Regions from separate parts of the Homo sapiens genome. Here region 1 is linked to region 2. Evidence: promoter capture Hi-C in 16 types of primary human blood cells and fetal thymus (Javierre and others, 2016). All regions are on one chromosome and are shown on one strand. The core of a region is centred on a gene start or on the middle of the fragment in contact, and the rest is flanking DNA. Distances in the headings are between cores, read along the strand shown.

Region 1 (5,305 bases), core at 541-3,040, 110 kb after region 2:
AAACAACCAAACAAAAACAAGGCAGCTCCTCTAAATTGAGTTTTACCAGGTTCCTTTTATTCTCTCTCTTTTTATGTTTTTGTAAAAATTGGATTGGAGTGGTTAACGGCATAGTTTTGTTTTGTTTTTTTAATTGTCTTTTAGCATTTTGGTAATAGCCCATATGTTTCATTTGGGAAAACAGTGACCTAGACCAAATTGAGACTATAGAGATACTTGTGTAAAGACTGAGTATGTTTGATGCTTGAACTACAGATAGTATAACAAATTGGAAGGCTATCCTTATAAAGGTAAATTGCTAAAATTCTAAAGTGTTCTTTTCCCTAACACATAGAGGATTGAATCAAAAGTAGCTAGAGACTGGTGGATTTTCGTTTTGGCTCTCTCTTTTCTTCTCACCTGTATACCTGAGGTATAGAAACAGTTCAAGTGAATGATGGTGTAAGAGGGAGAAAGGGGAGTGAAATTTTACAAAATGATGTGCATCACTCAGATAGTGAGGTCAAATAAATCGGCCAGGGTGATTTATTGCTGTACTCTGTCAGCATCATTTGGGTAACACCGTGCTCTCTGAGGATAGCAGAGAGAAGTCCTTATGGCTGTTAGCAAAGTAGAAGTGTCAGCCAGCATGTCATTCATTGTGTGGTATCTGTAGTCAGAAACAGTGACATAAAGATCACAGAGGTGGCATAAACAGTTGGATGGTTGTGTTAACACTCAAAAGCAACAGCATCCTTTTCCCAAAATGTACTTTCCCTAAGTGTTGTGTGTATGCATGTGTTAGAGAGGATGATAATCCTCTGGTCAAAAGTCTGCACCTTGAACAGGGTTGCAGGAGCATAAAAAGGGCGTCCTTCAGGAACTGAACTGATCACTCAGACCACTCAGTTTTATGTAAGACAAGCTGTTTTTTGAAAGACAAAAAAAAAGGGTGTTATACTCATAGCTGAGGTGATCAACTGTTGTGACATTCTGTACCTCCTCTTTTTCCCTATCATTCCGTATTTTTCAATAAAATATTTGGATTTTTTTTAAAGCCCTTTTACAAATGTTTGCAAAAAGCAACAAGTTAGGCAGGGAAGGAGTATCCCCCAGATATTCAATAACTTTTTCATATTTCTCACATACTTGAAAGCAGAGTTTAGAAAGAACAGTCCTTTTGGGAAGAATTCCTGGCAAGAGGATTATTTGAGGTTGCCATATTTCTGCTCCTTTCTTAGCAACATTATTTACAATCCATTCACGCCTGTCCCTTCCCCCACTGGAGTGGAGTCGTTCTCCCTTGTAATCTGCCCTTTGTGATCTGTTCTCTTTCATGCAGCCAGTGTGAATGGGTATGCTGCAGTGCGCGCTCTGCCCAGAGACGTGGAAATGCCAGGAGACCCGAATACTTTAGTGGGGCCTTTATTTATGTCATAAAGCGCTGACTTCAAGAGCTTGATAATTTGATTAGGACCTTTGGTGAAAAGTTGTTTCAAGTGGCCCAAGTGCTATAAATGACTCTCTTTTCTGCACTTTCCCGTTAGGTTTTAATTTAAAAGCACCTCCGCATTAGGGGGAGGAGAGATGCCTTTGGCAGAGGTAGCAGTTGGAGACTAATTTGTTAGGGCAGCCAGTGTTGAAATCATCCTTTTCAGTTAAATCTCTCTAGTGGAAATGATGCCGAGTGCTTTGTGGCAAGGACTTTTTCTTTCTCAGTGTTTTCCAGTGCCATTTGTAACCCACCTAAGCATGCTCTGGAGTTGCCTCCCAGCCCCAATTTTGGCTAATTGTCCTTTGAGGCACTGCATGTCAGAGGTCAGTTCTGAATTCCCCAACTTGAGATTTGAATGTTCCAGGGACAGTCCCACCGACTTGCTTCCTTTTAAGCAATTAGACTACACTCAGCTCTCTCTGGAATAGTTTCATCAAGTGCCTGGGGAACATAAAGAAATTGGATCAAAGATAAAGCAGATTTAGGAATAAAAAGGACCTGGGACTACAAAGAGTGGATGGAGTAGGACCATGTTTGCTTGTCAGGCCATATGTGAGTGCTTTTAAGAAGAATAAGAAAATTTAGAGGGAAAAGTTGACAACAATGAAAGTAGTGAGGAAATATTAAATGCTCGATGTTCATGTGTAGTCCATGGTGTGATTTTCAATGGTATGCCAAATATTTTTTAATATTCGTGAGAAAAAATATATACATATATATATAAAAAACTCCTACATCAAATACAAAGTCATTCTTTCAGAGATATTATTGCTTAGGATAATGCTAAATTAGTCCCTAGTCAGCCACTGAATTTTAAAAAATATATTAAGTAAATAATGGTCTAGATATTGTGCAGATTTGGAAAAGGATCCAAAATATGGTTTAGTTGTGAATAACAAAAGTTTAGGGAAAACACTAGTCTGGAGCAAAGTAGATGTGTAAGAAAAAAGTGCTGAGTTTTTTTTGTTTTTGTTTTTGTTTTTGTTTTATGCAGTCTTTATTTCTAGTTTGCCTCAGGTCCTGCTCTTGGATGTTTTCTTAAGGAGTTATAATCCTTGTGAAAGACACATGATGCCAATTGACACCTCACGAGTTGTGTTTGGTGGCCTGGAAATGGATTATGACAGTTTGGATTAATTGGGAGCTGTATAATAGCAAGCTGCAGTTATTTTTCAACCTGGACATAAAAATAAACAATAAATAATTTTGTGAAGGGACAGCTTAATGAATGACCTGAAGTTTTTAAACTGAGCTTTTGATACATGCGTTGTTACTTACTGTGACTGGCCAAAGACTGTGTGCATGTTTACCTATGTTTTACATTTTATAGCCATGTATAACCTTCATTATTGAAAGTCCTTGCTTTAAATGGGCGTCATTATGGGATGTTTGTGGAATGGAGCTGTCAGAAGGCATGAAGTCATGCATTCCTTGAAGCATGCATTGGTATTTCTCATAAGGCCCATCCATGCAGAGTGCACACTCTGTTTAACCTTAACTGAGTCTATCTGAAAGTGTGAGTGAGTTTCATTTAAAGAAAAATATGTGGGTTTTACTTAGAAAATCTGCCCAAAATTTCCACCTTTGGATCTGTAAACTGAATTTGAGACTTGATCTTCATTTTATTCTACTTGCAGTTCTTCCTGAGTGTCTTCTGAGTTCTGTGAGGAAAATGAGCCAGCCTTTTATTTGTAAAATAACTTTAGCTTGAATGAATGTTCTTTTTGTTTGGTGTGAATTTGCTGATTTTTAAATGAATTCTTAAAGTTGCTCCCCTGAGCTCCTATCTTAGAAGAGGTTGATATCTTCCTGAAATGGCACGTAAAAATATGTATACTAAATCCTTATCACACTGGAGAAGATAACTTACAGTAAAGAGGGTTTGATTTGTTCTTAAGTGATTTCTACCTCCTTTAGAAGTCAGGAGGTGTTATTTGTGAGTACTTTTCTGTCTAAATAAACAAGCCTGTAGCTGGTATCAGCCAAGCTAACAGGGGGCCTCTGTCTTATGTGCTGATGTGTTCCCAGTACTTGGTCCACAGTAGGCTCTGTGCTGCAGGCTTTGCAACTCTTGATCGTTTAATCCACAGCAGCCCTGCAAAGTAGGCTTGGCAACTGAAGACGCTGCCAACGAGGATGGAGTGAGCTGGTTGCCCAGGGTCACCCAATTAGTAACTGGCAGAGCAAGGATATGAACCCACATATCCCTGACTCTAAAGTTCTTGCCCTTTTCAGGTAATCTTTTAAAAAGTGTTTTTATTTGATTTGGATTCTATTCAGGCTGATTACTCAACCCATACATATCAAGACTGTGCCCAGCAGTCCTGAGCCTCTGCTGGGAAGGTGACCATAAACAACCTGAGAGTGACTCGAAGCATGCATATTGTGTTGTGTATTGGTTGGTGGGTCCAGCCTTACCCTATTGAGCAGGTGTTTGCTGATGGTCTTTTGTAGAGCATCCTCACCTGGAAACTGTGTAAGTTGATTCTTTTTAGCCAAGCTATAAAGACAGCCCCAATTGGCACATTCTGTCACAGTTCACTCTTCAAACTGATGCAGGATTTTTCTTCTTGGTCACTCTGCAAACCAGGGATGCCCGGCCAGTGATACGCCCTGCTTGGGCCTCCCTCGGCCACGCTGGGTGTGCCGCAGCTTGCCTGTGTTAAGGTTGTACCTGCGTTTGGCAGTTCCTGAGCTCTTGAATTGCACCCAAGAAGAATGAGGATACGTGGAACATTGGAGGGTGAGAAGAGTGGAGAAGAATTTTATTGAGCAATGAAAACGGCTTTCAAGCAGAGAGAGGATTCAGGGAGAGGGGAATAATTCCCCCATGTGGCTGGTTCTGGGGCCCTTTATGGACTCAGAATGGGGAGTGCCTGCTGATTGGTTTGTGAGTATGCAAAAAAGTTTAAAGGGAAGGCACAACTCAAAGGTGGGCATGACAGTGTAGAAAAACCAATTTGGAAAGGGTAAGTATATATAAAAATAGGTGAAGGGTGGGGACCAGTTAGAGGAAAGCATCCCAAATGGGAAGACAAATTCTTAATCCAGTCCTAGGATTTAACCTGTAGCTTGGTTTTCAGGCTTTAAACTGTCTTCGACTTGGAGGTGGGGTTTCGTCGGAGACCCTCCCCTGTCTTTCTAGGCATTTGTCTGCCTCTATCAAAACCATCTTGGATGCTTTAAGACCCTCCAAGCAGGGAATTGCTACACTGGCTGACACACCCATAGCTGATTTTTAGCTTAGCAACTTCCAAAATGGAAAGATGAAATCGAAAACAATCTGGATTTCCCTTAAACATATTCTGGATCCCACCCTGAATATACCAAAAAACTGTCATCGATGACAAATGTTCAGCCTATGCAGACTTGTACACTAACAACCTGATTTTGCCCAGCACTTAGGGAAGATGGGCTTCTTACTGATTTATGCCCCAGCCCTCACCTTTATCCCTGCCCCTCCATCATGTATTATGACTTGCTAATAATGCCATTTCAGAGCAGGCAAGTTGCCTTGTGCTTTCACCCAGGTGCTGGAGTCAGCCTGCCTGGGATTGCACCCATCTTTGCCTCTTAAGTAACCATGTGATGTTGGACAACTGACTTGAGTCCTTTAAAAGCCTTGGCTTCCTCATCTGGAAAGTGAGGTTAATAATAGTATCTACTTTGTTAGAAAGATGGTCAGGATTGAATGAGATAATCCATGTAAATCCCGTAGCATGGTGCCTGGCATGTGGTTTCTACACAGTACACAGTAGCAGCTGTTGTTGATGTTGTTGTTCTTGAAGGTGAGATTTCTCATCAGCCAGTTGTTTGGATTATAAAAGATTA
Region 2 (5,471 bases), core at 2,898-5,397:
CTCATGTACCCCATAAATATACGCACCTACTATATCACTTAAAAAAAATTTTATGGGTACACAGAAGTTGAATACAGACCAGTGTGTAAATGACTGTATAAAATTTTCAAGCATATATACCCACTGGTATACTAGCCAGCAGATACGTAACACTTAAATATGCTAAGGACTGCTTTAGATGCTTTTCACATATAAACACACTTAATCTACACAACAGCATTATAGATTTTTTTTTTTTTTAGACAGAGTCTTGCACTGTTGCCCAGGCTGGAGTGCGTGGCGCTATCTCGGCTCACTGCAAGCTCCGCCTCCCAGGTTCATGCCACTCTACTGCCTCAGCCTCCCAAGTAGCTGGGACTACAGGCGCCCGCTACCACGCCCAGCTAATTCTTTTGTATTTTTAGTAGAGACGGGGTTTCACCGTGTTAGCCAGGATGGTCTTGAACGCCTGACCTCGTGACCTACCCGCCTCGGCCTCCCCAAGTGCTGGGATTACAGGCGTGAGCCACCTTGCCCGGCCTCATTATAGATATTCTTATCCCTATTTTACCAATGAAAAAGCATCTTGCCAAAAATTAAATGTCACAGGAAGTAAGGAATAGAAATGGAACTCAAACTCAGGAGTCAGGCTCCAGAGAAGATACTTTTACCTTTTAGAGGCATTAAAAATCATTCTGGGAGAGGAATTATTACGGAAGGTAAAGAGGGGAAGGTTTTCATTTTTCATATTGTGCATTTCTTCTTGAATTTACTGACATGTAGTACTTTTTTTATGAAGTAGTAACAGTGGTTAACTGGGTGGTAAACTTATTTATCATTCTCAGGTACTTCATTTTCTCTGTATTAAAAATTCTACTCCGTTACTGAATAAAGCTATGATATGTTAACAACAACAAAGAAAACTGGCTTGATTTGACCTACTTTAAATGAACAAGAAGAGAGACTAAGGCCATGTAAAAAAAATGTTCATGCAGATTCCTGTAAGATTTATCGTTAGACCACCACAGCTCATGTTATTAAGATGAATCACACATATTAGCCCATTGTGTTACATTCCTTATGGTAAAATAACACCTGGTCCCTCCTTTCAAAAAGCTCAAAGCCATTAAAACAATTTTTAAGGTCAACAATATTAAGGAGACACATAAAAGGTGGGTGGAAGGAACAATAAGATGGTTTGATTCCTCCATGTAGATATTAACCTCTCCTAAGATACTTCTGACTGGTCTACATAAATTGCTGATGCCAAGGTAAATTACGTGCACCAAAATTAAATTTAAAATTTTAAAAGGAAAATAAATGCAAAACATCATGTTGAGGTCCTTTGTCTTTTCTCTCTATTTAAATGTTTAGAGTAGTATAGTGCTAATAAAGTCAAGGTGAAATGTCCATCTTGCTTTGAAAAACCAATTATCTTGGCTAAAGAAACATCATTTCATAGTTGAACTGCAGCAGTTATCCCTGTGTTGGGGCCACAGAAGATGGAAGAAAGTGGGCAAATGCAATGGCACTAATGAAAAAAAAACCCAAAAACAAAAGAACCCTGTGCCCACAAATGTCTAATTAACATTGGATCAGCAATTGAAATAGGAATAACAGCAGCAGCAAACACTTGCACAGCATTTATACCACCCTAGTTGGTGACCACACAACCCATTTGTTTCTTTTCACTCTGAAAAGTGTCCTGGTTTACACAATAAATTAAATGGTCACTCAACTTCAAAGTGCTTTACATATATTATCATGTTTCATCCTTGAAACAACTCTACAAAGTGTGTACTATTATCTTCCTTTCACAGATGAGTTACTACTCACCTCTGCATTCACAGAAAAATATATACAATTACATTATTAGAAAGTCATAATGCAGCTCCATTATTCTGTCATATTATTCGTAGGCATATTAAAAACCATTATTTCACATTGCAACAAGTACATATTCATGCATTACATTTTTCTAAGTTAAAAAAAAAAGCTACCGTCAAAACCAGCAAGCTTTATTAAATAGAATGTAGAGCCACATTCCACCCCAACCCCTTTCTCCATCTCTCATCTGTTGCTCTGGCATATCAATATATCACCTAATGTTCTCTGTAGTGCAAAAAGTGCTTCTGAAATGATTTCTATCAGGGTACTAACAATATTTAGCATCCTTTAAATTAACACATACAAAATACAGTTAACATAGTTTAAATTAACAGTGACAACATCCACACTGTTTTTCAGCTAGCCAGACTGCTAGAGTTGGCAACAAGGGAAGGAGAGAAAATGGCTTTGTCACAAACTACCTGTGTGACTGCAAGTCACTAACTTCCAAAGACCTCTACTTTTTCACTTATAACATGACAGTAGTGGTGAAAATATCCAGTCTAGTAGCTATAGCTACTCTAAAGCAGGGCAGTTCCTCAAACTGAGTGCAGGAAATAAAGGGCTGCTTCTTCAAGAGCTCCCAGTCCAACTGGATACGCAGACCCAGAGGAATGGATTACATGAAGGGACAGTGATACAGGCACATCAAATTTGTAAAAGACATTGGCTCTTATGTAAGCTCCATGGACAGGTACTGGTACTCCTCCAAGAGCTTTCCAGGAGGATGAATGAGATATCAAGAGCATCCACTTCTATCTTCCACACTAACATCGCTCTAATCCAAGCCCACATTTCTCTCATCTGGAATATTTTGCATTGGACTCCCTGTTTCCATTCTTGCCTTCCTAGAATCCATTTTTTATGCAACTCAGAATGATCTAAAAGATGAATTGGATCACTAACTCTCCTGCTTACAATCCTCCTATCATTTCTAAATGCCCACAAAGGACAATTCAGTCTCCTTTCCAAAGCCTGCAAGGCTCCTCCTGAGCTCCCTTTTACCTCCTTTTGCATCGTACTCCTCTTGGCCCACCTGGATGCAGTCCTGTCCCTAGATCCAGCCCAGTGGCTTTCCTTATTTCCTCTAAAGGGTGCAGAGCTTGTTTTCACCTCGGGCCTTTGCACTAGTTGTTGTCTCTATCTGGAATACTTTCCTGGGCTCTTCATGTGGTTGAACCTGTCAGGTATCACTGCCCTCCCCCATTACTCTCTGTCCTCATTCCATCAAGTTCATTCTCAGAACTTAATTACATTCCTTTTCAGAAATTATCTTATTTACTTATTTGATTGCACACTATGGCTTCTTTCCCCAAAGCAGGGGCCAGGGCCCTCCTCTGTCTAGTTCACTGCAAAGTAGCCAGGACCTCGCATTGTGCCTAGAAGGTATGCAATAAATACTTGTTGACGGATCACACATACCACTCATTTCAGCTTGATTTTTTCAAAAGCTCAGCTGACAAAAACCATGTTTATAGAGGATTGTCTGAAGAAGTTGTAGTTTGTCTTTCCTCTATGGTCTAGATATTCAATCAAAAAACCCTGATTTGAATCAAGCCAGATCAGCAGAGCTACCCACTACCCACCTAAACCACATTGTCCATTGATTTTATTTATTTATTTTTAGACAGGGTCTAGCACTGTTGACAGGCTGGAGTGCAGTGGTGCAATCATGGCTCGTTGCAACCTCAAACTCCTGGGCTCAAGTGATCCTCCTGCCTCAGCCTCCTGAGTAGCTGGGACTACCTACAGGTGTGTTCCACTCCACCTGGCTAATTTAAGAAAATTTTTAGTAGAGATGAGTAGCTGAGACTACAGGTGCACACCACCACACACGCCTGGCTAATTTGAAAAATTCTGTAGTATAGATCATGTCTTGCTGTGTTGCTTAGGATGGTCGCAAACTCCTGGGCTCACGTGATCCTCCTGCCTTAGCATCCCAAAGTGCTAAGATTGATTACAGGTGTGAGCTACCACACCCAGCCTCTACTGGCTTTAGAATGTCTTTCTAAATTGTGATTTAGCCTTCTTTTACCTAGCAAGGGATGTGCTACAAAACAGCTCTATGATCTTCAGTGCTGAAAAGAGGTTAAGGATATGACACTGGCTTTCATTTATAAAGACCTCAATGATAAACTTTTCCTCTAGTTCAAATCAGAAAAAAAAAGTGCTTTTCCTGGGCATCTAAGATTGCCTTCTCTCATGAACACTAGATCACAGAGCAGACGAGGTCCTGCCTCTCAGAATGGCCTACTGGAGAAACAGGTCACTTACAGCTTGGTTAATTAATGTACTAGACTTTATCCTCCTGCATTTTGAGGATCACCCCACTTCTGACTTCCCTTTATTTTTCCTAATCTCAATGTTCTTTTTGTCTTGTTTTCTAATCCGTTTAATTTTTATATTTTCTCATTACAGTGAACTGCCTTAAATGTTTTCTAGCATAAGGCATATAAATAACGTATTAAGGGTGACAGCAGCAATATGCATAAAATAATATGGCTAGTAGGCAGAAGGTCAACTACTTCTAGGAAAGAAAAGAGGGGATTTTTGAGGTGGGTCTTGAGGAATAAGTGGAGTGTCACCTGATAGAAAAGGCAGGAAAAGGCAACCTGTGCAGATTAAGAGAGAAGGCAAAGTCCACATCAAAGGAAAGTGGAAGACAGATTAGTAAAACAACTCTGACATTAATATTTACTGAATATTAATTATTATGTGTTGGACTCAATGCAAAGCCCTTTACAACTTTTTGTGTTTAATCCTCAAAACAATCCGCTGATGTGGATTTTATTATTATCTCCGTTCAGAGACTGAAGCTGAGACAGTCTGTAAGTGGCAGGGTAGAGATTCCTGTGGCTTTTAAGGATGTGGGGGGGCACTTGACTGCAGTCATTACTTTAGAACTCATCTTCTGTCCCTATCTCCCATCTGACAAAGCCTGTTGCTCCTTTGGACATCTCAATCTCAATAAATAGAAAAGTAGCACTAACAGGCACACAGTGAAGTCAAAAACCTGGGATCATCCTAAATCCCTTCTCCCACCATCCATTCAATACCTGAAGTCCTGACATTCTACCTCACAAATTTCCCTATTTCCCTCCCACCTGTCCTCTTTGCATTCCCTCTTGGTCACAGTCCTCATTGTCTCTCACCAGGGCCACTGCAGAAGTAGCAGACACAGGACGCATAATAGTGAAGAGCAGGAACTCGGCAGGTGGTCTCCCTGCCTTTGACCCTCTATAACTACTATCTGTGCGACCTTAGGCAAGCTAACCTGTGTCTGTTTCATCTGTAAAATGGGGATAACAATTAGAATAATACCTAACAGCACTACGTAAACGTTAGTAAGTGGCGAGGAAACTTAGCTCCTCATTTTCTCTTCCTCTAATCATTCTGCACATAACAGAGACAGTGTGTATGTGTGTGTGTGTTTTTTTTTTTTTTAATGAGACACGGTCTCACTCTGTCACCCAGACTGGAGTGCACTGGCGCGATCTTGGCTCACTGCAGCCTCAACCTCCCAGGCTCAAGTGATCCTTTCTCCTCAGACTCCCAAGTCCTGGGACTACAGGTGTGTGCCACTGTGCCAGACCAATTTTTTTGTA

Evidence for each region. The method cuts DNA at HindIII sites, captures the fragments that hold promoters and counts their contacts. A CHiCAGO score of 5 or more calls a contact.
Region 1: a contact is called between a fragment that was not itself captured here and the fragment with the promoter of THOC7-AS1 in region 2, in 7 of 17 cell types (total B cells, neutrophils, activated CD4 T cells and 4 more). The highest score is 10.6, in total B cells.

Annotation. Positions count from the first base shown.
Region 1 is chr3:63,969,489-63,974,793 of GRCh38, forward strand. All of the region lies in intron 5 of ATXN7 (ataxin 7), which reads left to right. Among named protein-coding and RNA genes, the nearest start is that of PSMD6-AS2, 32 kb to the right of the region's middle. RefSeq lists enhancers at 989-1,640, 3,622-4,122. The HindIII fragment of the contact is 7,761 bases long and covers 1-5,305 here.
Region 2 is chr3:63,856,498-63,861,968 of GRCh38, forward strand. It overlaps THOC7-AS1 (THOC7 antisense RNA 1), which reads left to right and starts at 4,148. Exons shown (of 2, transcript NR_104326.1): 1 at 4,148-4,499; 2 at 5,002-5,322. The region is part of intron 1 of THOC7 (THO complex subunit 7); the gene reads right to left. The HindIII fragment of the contact is 14,056 bases long and covers 1,994-5,471 here.